Linked DNA regions of Homo sapiens: region 2 is linked to region 1. The links are contacts of gene promoters, found by promoter capture Hi-C in blood cells and fetal thymus (Javierre and others, 2016). All regions are on one chromosome and are shown on one strand. The core of a region is centred on a gene start or on the middle of the fragment in contact, and the rest is flanking DNA. Distances in the headings are between cores, read along the strand shown.

The links. The method cuts DNA at HindIII sites, captures the fragments that hold promoters and counts their contacts. A CHiCAGO score of 5 or more calls a contact.
Region 2: a fragment that was not itself captured here is called in contact with the fragment with the promoter of NTN1 in region 1 in 2 of 17 cell types (total CD4 T cells and naive CD4 T cells); the score reaches 5.7 in total CD4 T cells.

The regions. Positions count from the first base shown.
Region 1 is chr17:9,018,978-9,024,249 of GRCh38, reverse strand. It overlaps NTN1 (netrin 1), which reads right to left and starts at 2,740. Exons shown (of 7, transcript NM_004822.3): 1 at 2,665-2,740; 2 at 859-1,939. The coding sequence starts at 1,876. RefSeq lists silencers at 2,489-3,278, 3,329-3,378 and an enhancer at 2,799-3,342. The HindIII fragment of the contact is 7,248 bases long and covers 1-5,179 here.
Region 2 is chr17:8,772,860-8,778,061 of GRCh38, reverse strand. No RefSeq gene overlaps it. Among named protein-coding and RNA genes, the nearest start is that of SPDYE4, 17 kb to the right of the region's middle. The HindIII fragment of the contact is 3,094 bases long and covers 657-3,750 here.

The DNA.
Region 1 (5,272 bases), core at 1,491-3,990:
CAGAAGCAGAACGTATCCTTTTTTAGCTTCATTTCTGACCCAGCCGTATTCACCCGGTTTTGTCAGATTTCTCTTTCAGGAAATGAAACCCTATTTAAAAAGTGAGAAGCTGGACCCTTAGTTAATTCAAAACTGTTTAATTTCACCAAAGCCTGAAGCTAATAAAAAAAATCTGGTATACTTTTTTAGACCAGAATTGAATTCGTTTAAAATAATTACTGAACGCTCCGTTGTAATCAGCAGATAGTAATTAATTGAAATCACATCATTCTTCTTTTGCTAACACAAACACGCTGTTCAAAAGAGAGACAAAAATAGTTTCAAATCATGAAAAGACAAATGGAGGGCAGGAGTGATACTCGTCGGGTACCGAACTGACCCCAAACTACAAACAGTTCTTTGCCATCTCCCAAGGGATTTGTAGGTGTGGAGTTGGAACTTCCCAGGAACTGGGCCGGGGTCCCCAACCGCGAGCCCAGCTGCAGCCTTGGGAAAGGGGGGTGGGTGCAGGTGAATCCCAGCGTCCAACCCAACGAGGGGGAAGGCAATGAATGTTTGCGTTTGGATCCAGGGTTAGCGGAGACCTATCTGCAAATGTTCTGCCAAACCCCCTCCCGGGAACATTTCTCCTGCTGCTTCTTGGCTTCGCAGAGAGCACTGGGCGCAAATTCGGGCGTCCACCACGAGCGCCACGCGAGCGAGTGGACCTGCTCTGAGCCCTCCCGGGTCCCGGGCATCGGCGAACGCGCCTCCCGCCGTTCCCTCGACCCGCGCTCCTATGAACTCGCCGCTGCGAGGCCCAGCAGCTCCCGCCCGCGGCCCCACCCGCCGCCGGCTCCGCCGCCGCACCCCACTCACCCACGCACTCGTTGGCTTCGCGGGCTGTGGCGCGCTGCCAGGGCCGGTCGTAGTGGAAGGGCTTGCAGCGGTCGCACTCCGGGCCGGCCGTGTTGTGCCTGCAGTCGCACACCAGGCTGTCGTCGCGGTCGCGCACGCAGCGGGCCGCGTGGCCGTTGCACTTGCACCGGCCGCCCACCTGCAGGTCGGACACCGCGTAGAAGTACGAGTCGCGCGCCAGCTCCGAGTCGTCCTCGTTCTCGTCGCCGAACGTGTGCAGGCGGCTGAAGGCCACGCGGATGTCTGTGGCCGTGACCCAGTCCTGCAGCACGGGCGAGTTGTCGAAGTCGTGCGCCGAGGGCCGCCCGTCCAGCGTGCTGAAGGCGATGAGGCCGCCCGAGAGCGGGCGCATGTCGGTGTGCGAGTCGGTGCACACGGCCTCCTGCTCGTTCTGCTTGGTGATGGGCGCGCGGTGCGGCCGGTTGTACATCTTGCGGCACTGCGTGGAGTAGAACTGGAAGGGCACCCACGTGCGCCCGTAGTCCATGGACTTGTAGATGGCCATGGACTCGGGCCGCGGCGAGCAGAACTGCAGGCTCACGTAGGTCACTTCGAACTTCTTGCCGAGGGACAGTGTGAGCGTGACGTTGTGCGGGAACTGCAGGTAGTTCTCGGACTGCCAGCACGTCAGGTTGTGCGGGTTGTTGAGGTCGGTGAGGAAGGCGGGCGGGTGCGCCTTCTTGGGGTCGGACGCGTTGCAGAGGTGGCACGAGCGCAGCCGCTCCTCGCCGCGCTCGCTCACCACGCAGTAGCGCGCCGGGGGCCGGCCGCAGGTGCTGGACACGCGCACGTCCTTGCCGAAGGCCGCATTGACAAAGTCCGGGATGCAGCGGCGCGGGTGGCCGTTCTCGTCCGAGCAGGGATCGGGCTGCGCCGCCTGGCCCGCGAACATGCTGAGCCCGGGCCCGCCGCGCACCGCGCCCACCAGGCACGCCACCGCCGCCAGCGCCGCCAGCGCCTCCCACACTGCGCGCATCATGCTGCGTCCAGCTTGCCCCGGCCCTGCCGCGCCGAGGATCTGTCCGCCTGCCGCAGAAGGCGCCTGCGGAGAGAAGGGAGCTGCGCTCAGCCAGCCCGCCCCGCGCCCTCCAGCTCTCGGCGGGGTGGCGAGCGGAGATGCGGGAGAACGCCCGGCTTCCTGGGCACCCACCCCGCAGCCGACTGCCCGCCTCTCTCCCCCAAAGTCCCGCGGGCGGCGAAGCCGGGGCCCTCCAAGTCCGCACCGCTCGCGCCCCTTCTTCCCCGCCCGGCGGGAGAACGCTCTGCTTCCCCGCCACCGCCGCCCCCACGCCGCCCGAGGGGCATGCCTGAGCCGGTCTCCCCGTCCGCGACCAGCCCCCCTCGCACCCCAAGTTTCGGGCGCAGGAGAGCTGGGGGACCCCGACTCTGCACGGCCCGCGCCCCTTCGTCTCGCAGCCCGGGGTCCCTCTCAGATGCCCCCCGATCGCGTCCCCGCCGGAAAGTCCGCGTTCGGGACTTTACCTCTGGAGGGGGCAAAAGAGAAAGAAAAGTTTGCCTGGCCCCTCCGGGGAGCCCGCGCGCCGGTCGCCGGAGAGCCTCTCGCTCGCTGCTAGCAGGCGCGTCCCGCCTCAGCGCGGGCTTGCCAGCTCCATGCCCGGCGCGGCCGCCGCTGCCCCAGCCCCAGCCCCGGTCCCGGCCCCGCCGCCGCCTCTCTCGCCCGAGTGACTACGCGGCCGCCCGGCTCCCGCCGCTCCCGCCGAGCTCGGAGTGCTGCCCTGCCCGCGCCCGGGGCGCACACACACTCACGCTGGCCGGCGCGCACTCACACACACGCGCGCTCGCCCCCGAAGGCTCCGCCGCCGCCGCCACTCGCGCTGGGAGTGAGGGGCGGAGGGGAGCGCGGGGGCGGGGGGCGGGGCCGCCGGGCGGGGCGCCGGCCAATAACGTCCGCGAGCTGCCGCCAGCTCCGAGCAAAGTTTTCACCCCGGGAAAGAAGAAAGTTAAAGGGAACCGGCCCGGACGCCCGAGAGGGAGAGCACAGGCGGGTGGGAACCCGGGAGCCCGAGAAAGAACAGCAGAGACAAAGAGAAAGCGAGGAGAGCACCCGGGGAAACCCCGGAGAGGGGGCTGGGCCGGGCCAGGCGCGCACCCCGTGGGGGAGGAGGGGCCGCCGGGGACTGTCAGCCTCGCCCGCGCCCCGCGCCGCCCGGAGAGCCTCACGCCCGGGGGAGCGCGCGGGCGGGGGAAGGGGGCCACTTTCTCCCTCCCGGTCCCAGCCAAACACATCTGTGTTTGTTTTCTTTGCTGCGCGGAGGTCGGGCCTTCCTCTAACCCAGCCTGATGGCCCCCGGTGGCACCGCGCACAGGGCTGTGCCCCTGTGGGCACGCAGCCCGGGAGCGTGAGGAAGAGGAGGAGGATGTGACCTCTGCCTGCTCTCCATTTTTGCCCGAAGCCCCCGGGGTCCGGCGAGGAGGGGCTGCTCGCCCGCACTCCCACGGATATCACCGTGCGTGAGCCTGTCTGTCGGGAACGCGGCTTCGTTCTAGCCAAGGGAGCAGTGGTGGGCAGGAGGCTGAAGGGGTAGGAAGCTGGCAGCACCTGGACGCTGGCCACCGCCCCTCCAAGACGGGCCTGCCTGGTCTCAGGCATGGGGACAGCCCAGCCCTCCCCAGATCCCCTGAGGCAGGCGTATCGGTACTTCCTCAACCGCATTTTTAAGGGTGCAAAGCCCTGTAATAGCTCATGGGACCTCCACAGCAGCTTTGCTGTTGTATTAACTCCATTTTGCAGATGAGGAAACTGAGGGTCCCGGGAGCTGAAGAAACTCGCACAAGATCAACCCCCAAGTAAACATCAAAAACAGGAAGAGAAGCCTGGGCTCCTTCCACTGCAGGGCATTCGTCAAATGCATAACCTTGCCGAATGATGGTGTCATGGGGCATCTGCGGGGCCACCCAGCCCCTCCTTGCCTCATTCTCCATCGCCCCAATAAAAAGACTGAGGACAGTGACAGCATCCTTTGGTCATCTTGCAACAGCAGCCAGAGAGCTCTGGGAAAGGAATACACTGGGCCGAGAGTTTGGAACGGAATCTCTGCTCGTTTATTTGTTACTTGTAGATGTGTGGTCCAGTAATAGACCCGGATGAAAAGCCCCAGGTCCTGGTTCCGGCCCAAGGGCTGCCTTGCTGCATTAGCTCCATTAAGTGCCTCAGTTTGTCTTATTGGCATTTTCATAAACCCTGAGAATCTAAGAAGGGGCCTCGGGGCTCGTCTGGCCCAGCTCCGTCTCCTTGGAAGAAGGCCTTCCCCAGCCTCCCAGAGAGACGGCCACCCAAGCCAGCTCTTCCAGGGATGGGAGCTCACCACAGCTCAAGAAAATAAATCCATTCCATTGCAGGACAGCCTGGATTCATCTTCTTACCCCGGGGTAGCAATTTAGCTGTGCCTTCTTGTGCCGTTTACCACACTCTGCACTGTTTATTTATGCCTTACCTCACCTTGTGGCAGAAAGGATTTCAGGTAACTTACAAGGGTACATAAAATATGACACAATAACAAATTAAAAGTGAGGTCAAAGGAAATAAATGAAATGGTTAACCATGGTGACCTGTGAAATCGCAATGGTATACTGAAAGGCAGCATAGCTCTTAGGAGGAAACGCTTCGGAGCCAGGGTACCTGGGTTCAAATTCTGCCTCTGCTGTGTGACTATGGAAAGTCTATGCCTTGGTTTCCTCCATCTGTACAAGGGAGATAATACTTTCTACCCCACTGGGTTGTGAGCATCACGTGAGTTGACACATTTGAATATTATAGCTGATGGGATATAGACATACATATTGCAGGTCTGTAACACATATAAATAGGCTTTCTCATGTATGCAAATGTAAATATGCATAAAACCAGGCACATAGTACATGCATATAGAAATGTTAGCTGTTAGTATGAGGTCGCTTGATCTATACAGAAATTTTAAATCATTTAGAGAACACTTAATTACAGGGAAAGATGTTCATGACATATTATAATATGAAAAAAGCAAATTAAAAACACACAGTATAATGTCATTTTAATTTTTTAAAAAGTATGCATAAAAAGACAACACAGTTAATAGTGGTTATCTCGGAATAATGAGATTACAGGTGATTTTTATTTATCTTTGCTTGTATGCTCTCAGTTTTGCACAGTAAAATATGAAGTAAGAGAACAAAGAAAAGCTAAGAAGGGAGACAAAGTCGAGAGGAGGATACAGGTCCAATGCACCCTGGAGTTCCAACCTCTACACCTCTTCTGAGTGGGCCACAAATTTGTCCCTAAGCTTTCCTGCAGCTAAAATGAGGAGACCATGTTCATTACACAATTCCCAGTGTCCATGAGATAAAAACAGACCTACTGCTCAAGGGAATTACAACT
Region 2 (5,202 bases), core at 954-3,453, 250 kb after region 1:
AGAGCTGTGCTAAAATCTCTGCATATAATTGTTCATATATCTATTTCCCCAGTATACATTTTGAGGCTACATTGTTGGATGCATATGTGTTTATGATTGTTATTTCTTCTTGATTTATTATCCCTTGTTAGTATATAACATCTCTATTTGTCCTGTATGTTATTTTTGCCCTAAATTAATTTTTCTTCTGATGTTAAAATTGCTACCTTGGAGTTCTTTCTTTTTTTAATGTGCCTAGATTTTTTTAACCTTTTACTTTCCAACTTTGCATAAATTATCTTTTGCTAACAGTATTTTATTGGATTTTGTTTTTATATTCAATCAGAGTCTCTTTATTTTGATTTCTGGGTTGAATTAACCTATATTTATGTTAATTAATGTTATCTTGGAACTTATTTCTGCTGTCTCGTTTTGTGTTTTCTATTTACTGTACTTTCTTTTTACTGCTTTCCATCCTCTTTGGGATAATTCAAAATTGTTTTCTTCCATTGAAATGTTTGGATTTTATACTTTCCATTGACTATGTTAAATTTGTTTTTTAGAATATAATACATTCTATGTATACTTTTCTCATTGTTGACCCTAACTTATTATGACCCTTACTTATGTTTATTCTTTCCCTTGTCAACTTCTTAAGCTTAACAGCATTTTAAGCTTAATAACTCTTCCTTAAACAGAACAAGTGCATTGGCATACTCCCATCACCCTCTAGACTTTCCTACTAACAGTTTCCCACTCCTCTTCCCTACCATGCTTCTGGTTTCGGGTTATATTTCTGAATTATCTATGATATATAAATTTTTCAGGAGGAGGGATTGCTAATTTAGGTAACAATATACTTTTGTAAGATACGTTTCTCCCCTTTACCTTGCATATCTCATTACTTCATCTTGTATTCATTTCCCATCTTACTGGGGTACTTCTCTTTTTAAAATGCTATCAAGGGAGATTGCCTTCTAAAATGGTGAAATGAGGAACTTGGTGAGCCATTATCCCTTAAAAACAACAAAAATACTGGCAAAAACAACTCAAATCAACCATTTCAGAACTTTGGAAGTATACCAAAGCCACAGAAGGAACTGAAAATCATCCATCCAAGAGAAAAATACTGAACTTCAATAAGACAATGGTGTCTGTGGCATTTTAACTTGAAGCTATTCCCATCCTCTCTCCCTCTCCAGCTTGGTGGCCCAGTAGCCATGAAAAGCCAGCAGACATGGAGCTAATGGAGATGACTGACCTCTTTTGGAGCTCCATTAAAAGCCCCATGCCTAGAGCACACTCAATATTTTGTCCAAATTAGCAGCTACCTGGAAAATCTCTGTTCCCAAGATGTTGTGGCTATTTCATTTGATTCACAACTCAGCTCATGGACAAAAACAACAACAACAACAAAAAAGCTGTCCCAGGGCATTGCCAAAAACAATAGCAATCTGATGGCAATATCTCAGCTGCCTAAGTCTGTGACTCTGGTTGCAGCAAACAAGAGCCTGGCCAACAGCAATAAAAATTTAAAAGGAAGCTCTTGAGAACTAGAAAACCACAGGGAACTTTAAAAAGCTCCAACATATTCCTGGGGATGTAGAAGGCTGTACTCATATGCATGCTTGGGAAAGACCTTGGAAAGAAGAAGGCCCCACTCATTCACCTCTGGCTGAACCTGAGTCCCTGTACAAGCAAAAAGTGAAAGCTAAGGCTGTCTTATAAACTACCTGAAGTGTGAAGCTGTGCCTTCAGCTACAGATCCCCTTGGCAAATGGTGAAAGATATACAGACAAAGCATTTAGGGAAATCTTCAGACCAATCATTATTGGCTGACCACTAAATTATACTGACCTAGGACTGAACCCTAGGAAACCAGACTTAAAAATGAAAATAATAACCCTTCTTTAAAATGCTAACAGAGAACTCAGGACCTGCATATTGCAGGGAATATAGAATCTACAGAATTAGTCCAGGAAAGGCACTAAGCACATAAGAAGCAAACAGGAAAGCAATGACATAAAAAGCAGCAATAGCAACAAACCTGGGGGAGGGTATCTCATACCATGTTGTTACAATATACTATCTATCTTAGTCTGTCATATTGCTATGACAGAATGCCTGAGACTGGGTGGGTAGCTTATTTTTAAAAAGATAGTGGGCCTAGTGGCTCATTCCTATAACCCCAGAACTTTGTGAGACTGAGGCAGGAGCAGTGCTTAAGCCCAGGAGTTCAAGACTAGTCTGGGAAACATAGTGAGACTCCATCTCTACAAAAAAAATAAAATACTAGCCAGGCATGGTGGTTCACATCTGTAGTCCCAGCTACTTAGGAGGCTGAGGTGGGAGGATTGCATGAGCCAAGGAGGTCAAGGCTACAGTGAGTTGTGATTGCACCACTGCATTCCATCCTGGGTGACAGAGCAAGACCTTGTCTCAAAAAAGAGAAAGGAAAAAGAAAATAGGTTTATTTGGCTCATGATTTTGATGGCTAGAGAGTTCAAGATTGGGCATCTCTATTTGATGAGACCTTGGGCTGCTTCAGCTCATGGCAGAAAGCCAGGGGGAAGTGAGCATGTGCAAAGAGATCACATGGCGAGAAGGGGAGCAAGAGAGAGGAATCGAGGAAATCAGACCATTTTAAACAACGTGCTTTCATGGGAACTAATTGATTCCCACAAGACGGAAAACTCACTAACCCCCATGGGAAAGCATGAATATATTCATGAGGAATCCACCCTCACGACCCAAACATCTCCCACTAGGCCCACCTCTCAACACTGCCACATTGGGGATCAAATTTCAGCAAGAGTTTGGACGAGGACAAAATATAACCGAGCCATAGCACTATCAAAAATGTTCAGTTTCGGCCGGGCGCAGTGGCTCACGCCTGTAATCCCAGCACTTTGGGAGGCCAAGGTGGGCAGATCACGAGGTCGGGAGATGGAGACCATCCTGGCTAACATGGTGAAACCCCATCTCTACTAAAACTACAAAAACTTAGCCGAGCGTGGTGGTGGGCGCCTCTAGTCCCACCTAGTCGGGAGGCTGAGGCAGGAGAATGGTGTGAACCCAGGAGGCAGAGGTTGCAGTGAGCCGAGATCATGCCACTGCACTCCAGCCTGGGTGACAGAGCAAGACTCCATCTCAAAAAAAAAAAAAAAAAAAAGTTCATTTTCATCAGTAATTTATAAGACATGCAAAGAAACAGAAAAGTATACCACATACACAGTTAAATAAACAGCCGTCAGAAAATATCCCTTAGGGCACACAGATGTCAAGTTTAGTAGACAAAGACTTTAAATCAACTATTTAAAATATGTTCAAAGAATGAAAGAATACCATGCCTAAAGAATTCAAGAAAAAGATGACAACAATATCTCACCAAATAGAGAATATCAACAAAGAAATAGAAATTACCCCCAAAAAAGCCAAATAGAAATCCTAGAGTGGAGAAATACAATAACTGAAATGAAAAATTCACTAAAGGGGATTGATAGCAAATTTGAGCTGTCAAAAGAAAGAATTGGCAAAGTCAAAGATAAGTCAGTAAAGATTATCTATCTGAGGAACAGAGTAAAAACAGAATGAAGAAAAATAAACACAGCCTCAGAGACCTGTGGGATATCATCAAGCATACCAACATATATTTAATGAGTGTTCCAGAAGAAGAAAAGAAGCATAAAGAGAAATAAAAAATATTTGGAGTAATGACTAAAAATTTCCCAAGTGTGGGGAAAACCGCTAGTGTACATACCTCAAGAAGCTTAACAAACCCCAACTAGAAAAACTCAAAGAGATCCACACTAGACACATCATAGTCAAGTGGGTGAAAGTCAAAGACAAAAAGAAAACCTTGAAAACAGCAAGAGGAAAACAACCTATTGTGTCCAAGAGATCTTCAGTGAGATTGACAGCTAACGTCTTATTAGAAATCATGAAGGCAGGAAGACTGGGATGACAACTTCAATGTGTCAAAAGATTCTCAATCAAGAATTCTCTATACAACAAAACTCTACTTCAAAAATAAAGATGTTAAGATATTTCCAGATAAACAAAAACTGAGAGCACTCATCACTAGTAGAGCTTATCAGAAATACAAAAGGGAGCCCTTCAGGCTGAAATGAGAGGACATTAGACAGTAACTTGAATCCACATGAAAAAATAAAAAGCACCAGTAAAGGTTACTAAATGGATAAATATAAAAGGCAGTATAAACATATTTTTGTTTATAACTCTTCTCTCTTTCTGATTTAACTCTTTCTCTTTTTAAAATCAACTGCATAAAGCAATAATTATAAAACTGTACTGATAGCTGTATAAAGTATAAAGATGAAATTTGCATAACCATATTGGCACAAAGAAGCAGGGAGGGAACGGAGGTATATTGGAGCAAAGATTTTGTAGATTACTGAAATTAAGTTAGTATTAATTTGAAGTAGTTTTTTTGGAAATTAAAATGCTAATTGTAATCCCTAGGGCAGACACTAAGAAAGCAATTTGTTAAATGGTTTCAAAGAAGATCTTGATGTGGTAAATGTTTTGAGAATTTATGTGCCTGAAAATATTTTTAATTCATAATCACATTTTAATAGTAGTTAGAATGCATACAAAATACTAGGTTTTGAAACGCTCTTGTCCTTCAGTCATTTGAAAATATTACTCAATTGTTTTCAGTTTGATGTTGAGAAGTTTGATGTCAATGTGGTTATTGTTTCTTTTTCTCTGGGAGCTTTTAGAATTTTCTGTCTCAACAACGACTAAATAATAGCATATTTAGGAATGAACTTAACAAAAAACGTACAAGACCTATATAAAGAAAACTTTAAAATTCTATTGAAAGACAAAAAAAGAAGACTGAAACAAATGAAAAAGTTTAGTTGAAAAGAATGAATAAGACCTTGTATTTGATAGCACAATAGGATGACTATAGTCAATAATAATTTAATTATACATTTAAAAATAAGAGTATGATTGGATTATTTGTAACACGAAGGATAAATGCTTAATAGGCTAGACAGCCCATGTTACATGATGTGATTATTATACATCGCATGCCTATATCAAAGCATCTCGTGTACCTCATAAATATATACTCCTATTATGTACCCACAAAAGTTAAAATTAAAAATTAAAACAGGCCTTGGCTAGGCACAGTGGCTCATGCTTGTAATCCCAGCACTTTGGGAGACTGAGACGGGTGGATCACTTGAGGCCAGA